Linked DNA regions of Homo sapiens: region 2 is linked to region 1. The links are contacts of gene promoters, found by promoter capture Hi-C in human tissues and cell types (Jung and others, 2019). All regions are on one chromosome and are shown on one strand. Each heading gives the region's core, a stretch centred on a gene start or on the middle of the fragment in contact. The rest is flanking DNA. Distances are from core to core; before and after follow the strand shown.

What was found. The method cuts DNA at HindIII sites, captures the fragments that hold promoters and counts their contacts. A contact is called where the count stands out against the background at its distance.
Region 2: a contact is called between a fragment that was not itself captured here and the fragment with the promoter of RMND5B in region 1, in 1 of the 25 tissues and cell types used here (dorsolateral prefrontal cortex).

What each region holds. Positions count from the first base shown.
Region 1 is chr5:178,128,464-178,134,523 of GRCh38, forward strand. It overlaps RMND5B (required for meiotic nuclear division 5 homolog B), which reads left to right and starts at 2,551. Exons shown (of 11, transcript NM_022762.5): 1 at 2,551-2,591; 2 at 2,774-2,913. RefSeq lists enhancers at 1-59, 1,073-1,724, 1,725-2,376, 3,655-4,184 and a silencer at 2,108-2,697. The HindIII fragment of the contact is 16,880 bases long and covers 1-6,060 here.
Region 2 is chr5:177,974,973-177,981,032 of GRCh38, forward strand. No RefSeq gene overlaps it. Among named protein-coding and RNA genes, the nearest start is that of PROP1, 18 kb to the right of the region's middle. RefSeq lists an enhancer at 5,093-5,837. The HindIII fragment of the contact is 5,363 bases long and covers 803-6,060 here.

The DNA.
Region 1 (6,060 bases), core at 1,301-3,800:
CTCACGCCTGTAGTCCCAGCACTTCGGGAGGCCGAAGCAGGCGGATCGCGAGGTTAGGAGTTCAAGACCAGCCTGGCCAGCATGGTGAAACCCCGTCTCTACTAACAATACAAAAAATTAGCCAGGCATGGTGGTGTGCACCTGTAGTCCCAGCTACTCAGGAGGCTGAAGCAGGAGAATTGCTTGAACCTGGCAGGCGGAGGTTGCAGTGAGCCAAGATTATGCCATTGTACTCCAGCCTGGGCGACAGAGCAAGACTCCGTCTCAAAAAAAAAAAAAAAAAAGAAAACAGGGCAAGGAATGGTGGCTCATTCCTGTAATCCCAATACTTCCAAAGGCTGAGAGGGGAGGATCTCTTGAGGCCAAGAGTTCGCAACCAGCTTGGGCAACATAGGGAGACCACCTCTCTATTTTGAAAAAAAAAAAAAAAGTAAGTTGTGCAAAGGGGAGGGAGGGGAAGGCATGGAGGATTCAAGGGGAGGATGGCCTGGAATGAGGCCCAACCAAAAAGGGAGCAGAAGTGGGCAACACAGAGACCTGGCTTTTTCTCCAGGGCTGTTCCTAGTCCCAGCTGAGGCCTGAGGAGGAGTGGGGACTTCTCTACTCTTTCCCTCCAGAGCAGAGGGTCCGGGATAGAAAATTCAATCTGGGGCTGGGTGTGGTGGTTCATGCCTGTAATCCCAGCAATTTGGGAGGCTGTGGTGGGTGGATCACCTGAGGTCAGGAGTTTGAGACCAGCCTGGCCAACATGGCAAAATCCCCTCTCTACTAAAAATACAAAAATTAGCCGGGCATGGTGGAGCATGTCTGTAATCTGTTACTCATGGAGCTGAGGCAGGACAATCGCTCGAAGCTTGGAGGTGGAGGTTGCAGTGAACCGAGATCACACCACTGCACTCCAGCCTGGGCAACAGAGCAAGACTTCATCTCAAAAAAAGAAAAAGAAAATTCAGTCTGGACCTGGGTTTGGGGTCAGTGCCTGTTCCCTCCTCCTTCCTAACCCTCACCCTTCCTCCTTAGGGCAGATGGGCAGCTCCCATCTTCTCCCCTTCCCCCGTTCCCCAGGACAGCGACCAACACAGGGCGGCAGGGTAGGGCTGGACCCCCTCCTCCGCAGAACTGAATTCTGTTGAATACCCAGTGGGCAGATTAAGTTCGGGCTAAGGGGACCAGAAAGGCTGGGACAGGAAAGGAGTTTTCTTTTCTTTTCTTTTTTTTTTTTTTGAGACGGAGTCTCGCTCTGTCGCCTAGGCTGGAGTGCAATGGCGCGATCTCGGCTCACTGCAACCTCCGCCTCTCGGGTTCAAACGATTCTCCTGCCTCAGTCTCCCGAGTAGCTAGGATCATGGGACTACAGGCGCCTGCCACCATTCCCGGCTAATTTTTGTATTTTTAGTACAGACGGGGTTTCACCATATTGGACAGGCTGGTCTCGAACTCCTGACCTTATGTTCCGCCCGCCTCAGCCTCCCAAAGTGCTGGGATTACAGGCGTGAGCCGCCCGGCCCGGAGTTTTCTATTCTTTTTTTTTGAGACGGAGTCTCGCTCTGTCGCCCAGGCTGGAGTGCAGTGGCGCCGTCTCGGCTCACTCCGAGCTCCGCCTCCCGGGTTCACGACATTCTCCTGCCTCAGCCTCCCGAGTGGCTGGGACTACAGGCGCCCCCCACCTCGCCCGGCCAATTTTTTGTATTTTTAGTAGAGACGGGGTTTCACCGTGTTAGCCAGGATGGTCTCGATCTCCTGACCTCCTGATCCGCCCGCCTCGGCCTCCCAAAGTGCTGGGATTACAGGCGTGAGCCGCCGCGCCCGGCCTGGAGTTTTCTTTTTTTTTTTAAGCATCACTTCATATTTCAAGAGCTCTCAGTTCTCCTGAGATTTCTAGGCTCTGTCCAGGATCCCTAAGCCTGTTCACAGTCCTACTTGAAGTTTCTAATCTTTCTTTTCTCATTAACCAAAACTGGAGAGAGGAAAAAGCCCATCATTTTCCCTGGACAGCAGCGCCTACTGGGAGTTTCACCCGCATTAACATGCAAACGACAGGCAAACTCCTAGTCATCCTTCCAAAGACCCTGCTCCACAGCCCTGCCGAGGCCGGTGCGCACCTAGCCCAGCCACTGCCCCTCACGGCCCCCGCGCCGCCCTCACTGAGCAGGGCGGGCAGCGCTGTAAGCGTAACCACTTGGGGCTTGGGGCTTCTGACCCGGGAGTCGGGTGCTGGGTTGAGTGCGAGGCCGACGCCTCTGCCGGGTGGGGAACCCGCCCGCCGGCGAGGAGCGGTCGCGGCCAGGGGCTTCCGCCGACTGGGAGGCCCGGGGCCGGGCCGGAGGGACTCGGAACCTGGAAACGACCAGGCGCGACCCCCAGAGGACTACAGGCGCGGCTTTTCTGGCCGCCGCCCGGTTCCCGCGGGCGACTCCACTCGGCATGCGCGGCGGGGAGCCTCGGCGGTGAGGCGCAAAGCCGCGGGCTCGTGGGACGGCCACCCCTCCGCAAAACCGCCAATGGGCGGGCCCGGGCCGCCGATCGCCCGCCGCGGCTTCCGGTTCCGATGACAGTGGCGCCGGAAGCCGGGGCCGGGGCTGCGGGGCGAGGTGAGAGCGGGCGGGCTTGGGAGCCGGCAGGTGCGGGCCGAGGGCGGGCACAGCGGCCGGCGGAGCTGAGGCGCGCGGCGGGGAAAGCTCGGCCGGCCTCCCGGGCCCCAGCCTTCTCCAGAACCCCTGCTACCCACGACTAAGCCCCGAACAATCTGCCCTTGGGCTTGTTCTCTTCGCAGTTGTCGGCCCTGGGCCGGGAGCTGGAGTCCCAGACTCATAGGTCCCGGCCCAGCCCCCGAAGAGCCGCCTCAGCCGGGGGGAGTTGCTCGGACTCAAACGTCCAGTCCTCGTGCGACCGCGCTGGGTCGGAAGTGAGCAGGTGCGCACCGGGCTCGGCAGGGCTATGGAGCAGGGTCTTTGGAAGGATGACTAGGAGTTTGCCTGTCGTTTGCATGTTAATGCGGGTGAAACTCCCAGTAGGCGCTGCTGTCCAGGGAAAATGATGGGCTTTTTCCTCCCTCCAGTTTTGGTTAATGAGAAAAGAAAGATTAGAAACTTCAAGTAGGACTGTATAGTAAAAAAAAAAAAAAAATGGAGGAGGGCGATATGACACGGTAACTGGTGTGAGGGTGGGGCGGAGGGGTCAGTATTAGATACTGTGGTCTAGCAGAGCATCTCTGAGGACGGGACATTTGCGTTGAGACCCAAATTAGGAGGCAGGCTTAGGAAGATACGGGAAGAGAGTGGTCCAGGCAGCGGGAACAGCCAGTGTGAAGGCCCTAGGGCAGAAATCAACTGAGAGTATAGTCAAGGAACAGAAAGCAAGCTAGTGTGGCTAAAGTATGGTAAGAAAGGGAAAGAGTGGTAGGAGATGAGGTCGGATAATTGGGGTTTGGTCACATAGAGTCTGTAGGTCAGAGAGAGGAATGTGGAGTTTTTTCTAAGTACAGTGGAAATCTTTTGGTTTTAAGCAGAGGAGTGACATGTAGGGTAGAGAGTGGATGGAGGTCGCGGCTGCAAAAGCATAAGAATTGGCTGGGCACGGTGGTTCACGCCCGTAATTCCAGCACTTTGGGAGGCTGAGACTGGCAGACGGCTTGAGCTCAGCACTTCAAGACCAACCTGGCCAACATGGTGAAACCCTGTCGCTCCAAAAAATTAGGCTGGGCGCAGTGGCTCACGCTTGTAACCCCAGCACTTTGGGAGGCCAAGGCGGGAGGATCACTTGAGGCCAGGAGTTCAAGACCAGCCTGGCCAACATGGTGAAACCCCGTCTCTACTAAAAATACAAAATTTAGCCGGGTGTGGTGGCAGGTGTCTGTAATTCCAGCTACTTGGGAGGCTGAGGCAGGAGAATCGCTTGAAACTGGGAAGCAAAGGTTGCAATGAGCCAAGATCGTGCCACTGTACTCCAGCCTGGGCGACAGAGTAAGACTCTGTCTCAAAAACAAACAACAAAAAAATTAGCCAGGTGTGGTGGGGAGAGAGGGGAAGAATAGGGACAAAAGGGAATACATAAATAAACACAAAGGAGAAAAGGCCCTGCATGGACCACTTACATGTGTCATGAACTCAGGAGTGTTCATGGTGGGACTACATGGTGCACCTGTAGTCCCAGCTTCTTGGGGTGGGGGGCTGAGGTGGGAGGATCACTTGAGCCCAGGAGGTCGAGGCTGCAGTGAGCCCTGATTGTACCACAGCACTCTGGCCTGGGAAACAGATTGAGACCCTGTCTCTCTCTTTTTTTTTTTTTTTTTAAGCAACCCTATTAACTGAAGAGACCCTGCCTCACAAAAAAAAAAAAAAAAAAAAAAAAGCGTTAAGAATTGGGTCAATGGAGGTTGTCTAATCTTTTTTTTTTGTTTTTGTTTGTTTGTTTGTTTTTTTGAGACAGTCTCACTCTGTCGCCCAGGCTGGAGTGCAGTGGCGCCATCTCAGCTCACTGCAACCTCTGCCTCCTGGGTTCAAGCAATTCTCCTGCCTCAGCCTCCCGAGTAGCTGGGATTACAGGCACGCACCACCACGCCCAGCTAATTTTTGTATTTTTAGTAGAGACAGGGTTTCGCCATGTTGGTCAGGCTGGTCTCAAACTCCTGACCTTGTGATCCGCCTGCCTCGGCCTCCCAAAGTGCTGGGATTACAGGCATGAGCCACCACGCCCAGCCGATGTTGTCTAATCTTTGTCAGGCAAAAGGGACCTTTATGATTTGCTCAAACTTCCTTTCTCCTTACACAGGAGCCCCTTGTTTCAGGATGCTAAATACTCCAGGATAAACCTCCATACATGCCTTTGTGGAGATTTTAATATTTCACTCATGTCTCTTTTCTACCCACTCCTACACATTTGAGCTCAGGTTCTCCAGCGCAGTTAGGAAATGGATGTGTCATTTAATCAGCAAATGTGTGTGTGTGTTTTTTTAAATTTGAGACGGAGTTTTTGCTCTTGTTGCCCAGGATGGAGTGCAATGGCGTGGTCTTGGCTCACTGCAACCTCCACCTCCTAGGTTCAAGCGATTGTCCTGCCTCAGCCTCCTGAGTAGCTGGGATTACAGGTGCCCGCCACCACGCCTCGGTAATTTTTGTATTTTTAGTAGAGACGAAGTTTCACCATGTTGGTCAGGCGGGTCTCAAACTCTTGACCTCAGGTGAGCCACCCACCTCAGCCTCCCAAAGTGCTGGGATTACAGGTGTGAGCCACTGCGCCGGCCAATCAACAATTTTTTTTTTTTTTGGAGACGGAGTCTCACGCTGTCTCCCAGGCTGGAGTGCAGTGGCACAATCTTGGCTCACTGCAAGCTCCACCTCCCGGGTTCACACCATTCTCCTGCCCCAGCCTCCCGAGTAGCTGGGACTACGGGTGCCCGCCACCACACCCGGCTAATTTTTTGTATTTTTTTAGTAGAGATGGGGTTTCACCGTGTTAGCCAGGATGGTCTTGATCTCCTGACCTCATGATCCACTCGCCTCGGCCTCCCAAAGTGTTGGGATTACAGGCGTGAGCCACCGCGCCCTGCCCCAATCAACAAATGTTTACTGAGCATCTACCATGGACCAGGCCCTAGTCTGGGCACTGAGGGGGAGAAAGGACAAGACTACATTCCAGCCATCGAGCAGCTCACAGACCAATGGAGGAGGCTGACGTGGACAGGCTGTTACTGTGCTGCAGTAGCTGAGGACTCGATGGGTGTGGTGTGGCCACTCTTGCCAGGTTATGAAGCAGAAAAGGAGGCAGGGAGATTTCACTGAGGGCTCAAGGGGAGGTGATAATTTAACTACAGCTTACGTACTCTATACAAAGAAGTGCAGAGGGCACTCTAAAAATGGGAACAACTTGTGCAAAGGAAGCAAATACATTATTGCAAAGGGTTTATATGTCAACCATGGTAGTGTTGGGCAAAAGGTAACAGGATCTGCTATGTGTTTCGGAGGGTCATCCTGGTGGATAATTTCTGTATATGTGAGACCTTGGGGAGGAAGGCTTAGGACCAGTGGACATGAAATTTCAATCTATTAATCATGAAGTTTG
Region 2 (6,060 bases), core at 2,234-4,733, 150 kb before region 1:
AGTTTATTGAGTTTTTAATATGAAGGGATGTTGAATTTTATCAAAAGCCTTTTCTGCATCTATTGATATGATCATGTGGTTTTTGTCTTTAGTTCTGTTTATGCAATGAATCACATTTATTGATTTGCATATGTTGAACCAGCCTTGCATCCTGAGGATGAAGCCTACTTCATCATGGTGGACAAGCTTTTTGATATGCTGCTGGATTTGGTGTGCTAATATTTTGTTGAGGATTTTTACATCAATGTTAACCAAGGATATTGGCCTGAAGTTTTCTTTTTTGTTGTGTCTCTGCGAGGTTTTGGTATTAGGATGCAGACAACATGATTCTACATCTGGAAAACCCCATATTCTCGGCCCCAAAGCTTCTTAAGCTGATAAACAACTTCAGCAAAGTTTCAGGATACAAAATCAACATACAAAAAAAATCACTAGCATTCTTATACACCAGCAACAGCCAAACCAGGAACCAAATCAAAACTCAATTCCATTCACAATCACCACACACACACACTCCTAGAAATACAGCTAACCAGGAAAGTGAAAGATCTCTACAAGGAGAATTATACAACACTGCTCAAAGAAATTAGAGATGATACAAACAAATGGGAAAACATTTCATACTCATAGATAGAAAAATTGCCCAAAGCAATTTATAGATTCAATGCTATTCCTATCAAACCACTAATGATATTCTTCACAGAAATATAAAAAACTATTTCAAAGTTTATATAGAACCAAAAAGGATCCCAAATGGCCAAGACAATTCTAAGCAAAAAGAACAAAGTTGGAAACATCACACTACCCAACTTCAAACTACACTACAGGGCTATAGTAACCAAAACAGCATGGTACTGGTATAAAAAAAGACACATAGGCCAATGAAACAGAATAGAGGATCTAGAAATAAGGCCACATACCTATGATCATCTGATCTTCAACAAAGCTGACAAAAACAAGCAATGGAGAAAGGACTTCCTATTCAATAAATGGTGCTGAGATAACGGGCTAGCCATATGTAGAAGATTGAAACTGGATCTCTTTCTTACACCATATACAAAATCAACTCAGGGTGGATTAAAGAATTAAATGAAAACCCAAAACTATAAAAACTCTGGAAGGCAACCTAGGTAATACCATTTTGAACATAGGAACTGGCAAAGATATCGTGATGAAGACGCCAAAAACAATTGCAACAAAAGCAAAAATTGACAAATGGGATCTAATTAAACCAAAAAGCTTGTGCATGGCAAAAGAAACTATCAACAAGAGTAAACAGCCTACAGAAGAGGAGAAAATATTTGCAAACTATACACGTGACAAAGGTCTACTATCCAGCATCTATAAGAAACTTAAGGCTGGGTGCAGTGGCTCACACTTGTAATCCCAGTACTTTGGGAGGCCGAGGCAGGTGGATCACGAGGTCAGGTGATAGAGACCATCCTGGCTAACATGGTGAAACCCCGTCTCTACTGAAAAAAAAAACAAAAACAAAAAAAATTAGCTGGGCGTGGTGGCGGGCGCCTGTAGTCCCAACTACTTGGGGGGCTGAGGCAGGAGAATGGCATGAACCCGGCAGGCAGAGCTTGCAGTGAGCTGAGATCGCACCACTGCACTCCAGCCTGGGCGACTGAGAAAGACTCCATCTCAAAAAAAAAAGAAAAAAACTTAAGCAAATTTCCAAGAAAAAAACCAAGCAACTTTATTTTATTTTTTATTTATTTTTTATTTTTGAGACAGAGTATCGCTCTGTTGCCCAGGCTGAAGTGCTATGGCACACAATCTCGGCTCACTGCAACCTCTGCCTCCTGGGGTCAAGCAATTCTCCTGTCTCAGCCTCCTGAGTAGCTGGGATTACAGGCACCCACCTGTAATCCACCACCACACCAGGCCATTAATTTTTTGTATTTTTTTAGTAGAAATAAGGTTTTGCCATGTTGGCCAGGATGGTCTCGAACTTCTGACCTCAGGTGATCTGGCCTCAGCCTCCCAAAGTGCTGGGATTACAGGCCTGAGCCACCGCACCCGGCCATAAAACAACAATATTCCAAAGTGAGCAAAGGGCATGAGCAAACACTTTTCAAAAGAAGACAAACTTGAGGCCAACCAGCATATTAAAAAAAGCTTGGCTAGGCGCGGTGGCTCACGCCTGTAATCCCAGCACTTTGGGAGGCCAAGGCAGGTGTATCACCTGAGGTCGGCAGTTCAAGACCAGCCTGGCGAACATGGTGAAACCCGCCCCCCCAACCCGTCTCTACTAAAAATACAAAAATTAGCTAAGTGTGGTGATGCATGTCTGTAATCCCAGCTACTCGGGAGGGTGAGGCAGGAGAACTGCTTGAACCGGGAGGCGGGGGTTGCAGTGAGCCAAGATGGCACCACTGCGCTCCAGCCTGGGTGAAACAGAGCGAGACTCTGTCTTTAAAAAAGAAAAGAAAAGAAAAGCTCGATATTACTGATCATTAAAGAAATGCAAATCAAAACCACAATGAGATACCATATCGTATCAGTCAGAATGGCTATTATTAAAAAATAAAAAAATAACAGATGGTGGCGAGGTTTTGGAGAAAAAGGAATGCTTATACACCGTTGGCAGGAGTGTAAATTAGTTCAACCATTGTGGAAGACAGTGTGGTGATTTCTCAAAGATATAAATACAGAAATACCATTCCACCCTGCAATCCCATTACTGGGTATATACCCAAAGGAAAATAAATTGTTGTTATAAAGACACAGGCACAGATATGTTTATTGCAGCACTATTCACAGTAGCAAAGGAAAAAAAAAGACTCCAGGAGGCGTCCCTGGGAGACTTTCTCCAGCCTCATAGCCCATCTTGCACCCAAGTGACAGCACGTGGCTTTCCTTTTGTGAGGGGAGCCCATGGGATTCACTCCCTTTTCCTATTTCCTCCGGGGTGAAGCCTCATGTGTCGGGACAATGTGGGATCAGGGACTGTCTGGGTGACCCTGGCGAGCCTCTCCTCACGGAGTTCTAGCGGCCATCAGGGAAAGGGGAGCACGCCCAGGGCGGCCGCCCCCAGGGGTGTTTGAATACAGGCCAGGAGCAGGCTGCTCTGTGATGGTGGGGCGGGAGGTGATGAGACTCCCCTGAGAGGCTCCCTTCGGTGCTGGAAAGATGGGACATGGGGAACCGCCTCCTGCCTGGACCAGTTGATGCCCAGAGCCACTCCCCTGGGTCCTCATCGCTCCTTCCAGGCAGTGAGGATGTGGGTTTCCAGGGGAATCCAGGCCTTTAGGGAGAGTGGGAATCTGACTTTGATCTTGCAGCTCCGCATTTTTCCTGCACATTTGCTGATTAGTTTATGCCTGTCAGGGGCCTCAGGGCCAGTGCTAAGTCCCAGGGTCTTAGGGTAGGAAAGATGATTCCCCAGATTTCCTGCAGGCATTTGAGCATGGTGGAAGGATCAGTGGAGCCTCCAGTGAAACTTGGCAGATTGCGCACTTCATTTATTTTCACTCTCCCAGGATCCTTCCCAAATTATCATAAATAAACAGAGAATTCTGAAACCTACAAAGAAAAATACAGCAAAAGAACAATGAATCAGTTTCAAAGCCTAGGCAGAGAGGCCGTAGGGTGACTGACAGCAGCCCCTGTGGGACTGGAGAGCAGACGGTTTGGTGGAAACAGCGCCCAGTTCCACAGAGGGAACTTGAGGAGAAGCAAAGTGACTGAGCCAGCAGAGCCGGGCCCCAGACCCCCACCCCAGCCTGTGGGAACTGCAGGTGTGATCTGGGAACACACTGTTCTGTCCCTTCTATTTTTCTCTTCATATAAGCTCTGGTTCTAGAAACAACTCACCTGCAGCCGTGTGTGTGTGTGTGTGTGTGTGTGTGTGTGTGTGTGTGTGTGTGTGTGTGTGTGTGAAAGAGACACAGAGCACGTGGGAGCTCATTTCTCCCTGGGTGTGTGTGTGTGTGTGTGTGTGTGTGTGAAAGACAGACACAGAGCACGTGGGAGCTCATTTCTCCCTGGGTGTGTGTGTGTGTGTGAAAGACAGAGACACAGAGCACGTGGGAGCTCATTTCTCCCTGGGTGTGTGTGTGTGTGTGTGTGAAAGACAGACACAGAGCACGTGGGAGCTCATTTCTCCCTGGGTGTGTGTGTGTGTGTGTGTGTGTGAAAGACAGAGACACAGAGCACGTGGGAGCTCATTTCTCCCTGGGTGTGTGTGTTTGTGTGTGTGAAAGACAGAGACACAGAGCACGTGGGAGCTCATTTCTCCCTGGGTGTGTGTGTGTGTGTGTGTGTGAAAGACAGAGACACAGAGCACGTGGGAGCTCATTTCTCCCTGGGTGTGTGTGTGTGTGTGTGTGTGTGTGTGTGTGTGTGAAAGAGACACAGAGCACGTGGGAGCTCATTTCTCCCTGGGTGTGTGTGTGTGTGTGTGAAAGACAGAGACAGAGCACGTGGGAGCTCATTTCTCCCTGGGGGTGTGTGTGTGTGTGTGAAAGACAGAGACACAGAGCACGTGGGAGCTCATTTCTCCCTGGGTGTGTGTGTGTGTGTGTGTGTGTGTGAAAGACAGAGACACAGCACGTGGGAGCTCATTTCTCCCTGGGTGTGTGTGTGTGTGTGTGTGTGTGTGTGTGAGAAAGACAGAGACACAGAGCACGTGGGAGCTCATTTCTCCCTGGGTGTGTGTGTGTGTGTGTGTGTGTGTGTGTGTGTGTGAAAGACAGACACAGAGCACGTGGGAGCTCATTTCTCCCTGGGTGTGTGTGTGTGTGTGTGTGTGTGTGTGTGTGTGTGTGAAAGACAGAGACACAGAGCATGTGGGAGCTCATTTCTCCCTGGGTGTGTGTGTGTGTGTGTGTGAAAGACAGAGCACGTGGGAGCTCATTTCTCCCTGGGTGTGTGTGTGTGTGAAAGAGACACAGAGCACGTGGGAGCTCATTTCTCCCTGGGTGTGTGTGTGTGAAAGACAGAGACAGAGCACGTGGGAGCTCATTTCTCCCTGGGGGTGTGTGTGTGTGTGTGTGTGTGTGTGTGTGTAAGACAGAGACACAGAGCACGTGGGAGCTCATTTCTCCCTGGGTGTGTGTGTGTGTGTGTGTGTGAGAGAGAGACACAGAGCATGTGGGAGCTCATTTCTCCCTGGGTGTGTGTGTGTGTGTGTGTGTGTGTGTGAAAGACAGACACAGAGCACGTGGGAGCTCATTTCTCCCTGGGTGTGTGTGTGTGTGTGTGTGTGTGTGTGAAAGACAGAGACACAGAGCACGTGGGAGCTCATTTCTCCCTGGGTGTGTGTGTGTGTGTAAGACAGAGACACAGAGCACGTGGGAGCTCATTTCTCCCTGGGTGTGTGTGTGTGTGTGTGTGTGTGTGTGTGTAAGACAGAGACAGAGCACGTGGGAGCGCATTTCTCCCTGGGTGTGTGTGTGTGTGTGTAAGACAGAGACACAGAGCACGTGGGAGTGCATTTCTCCCTGGGTGTGTGTGTGTGTGTGTGTGTGTGTGTGACACAGAGCGCGTGGGAGCGCATTTCTCCCTGGGTGTGTGTGTGTGTGTGTGTGTGTGTGTGTGAGAGACACACACAGAGCACGTGGGAGCCCATTTCTCCCTGGGTGTGTGTGTGTGTGTGTGACACACAGAGCACGTGGGAGCCCATTTCTCCCTGTGTGTGTGTGTGTGTGTGTGTGTGTGACACACAGAGCACGTGGGAGCGCATTTCTCCCCGGCTCCAGATGGCAGCAAGGAAAAGCGAGATCGCACAGGATCCAGGTTCTTTGAGGCCTGATGCCCATTGTCCCACCCTCAGCCTTGGCCTGTCCCCAGCTTGCTGCTGCCTCAAACTACAGGCTTCCAAGCACTTACTGGAGCCATTTTTTCTCACGTAGCCCTCCAACTGTTAGTCAGGGTTAGCCAGGCTCTGTCCGCCCCCAGCCAATCAGACAGTCAGTTTCCCCAGCCAGCGGGGAGTTTCTGGTTTGCCAAGACTCAGAGGCTGGTGGAAGCCAGACTGGGAAGGGGGTGGCTCTCCTGGCTGAGCGGGGGAGAGAGATGGGGCGGGCTGTCTTAGAGGAGGAGGCCAGAGTC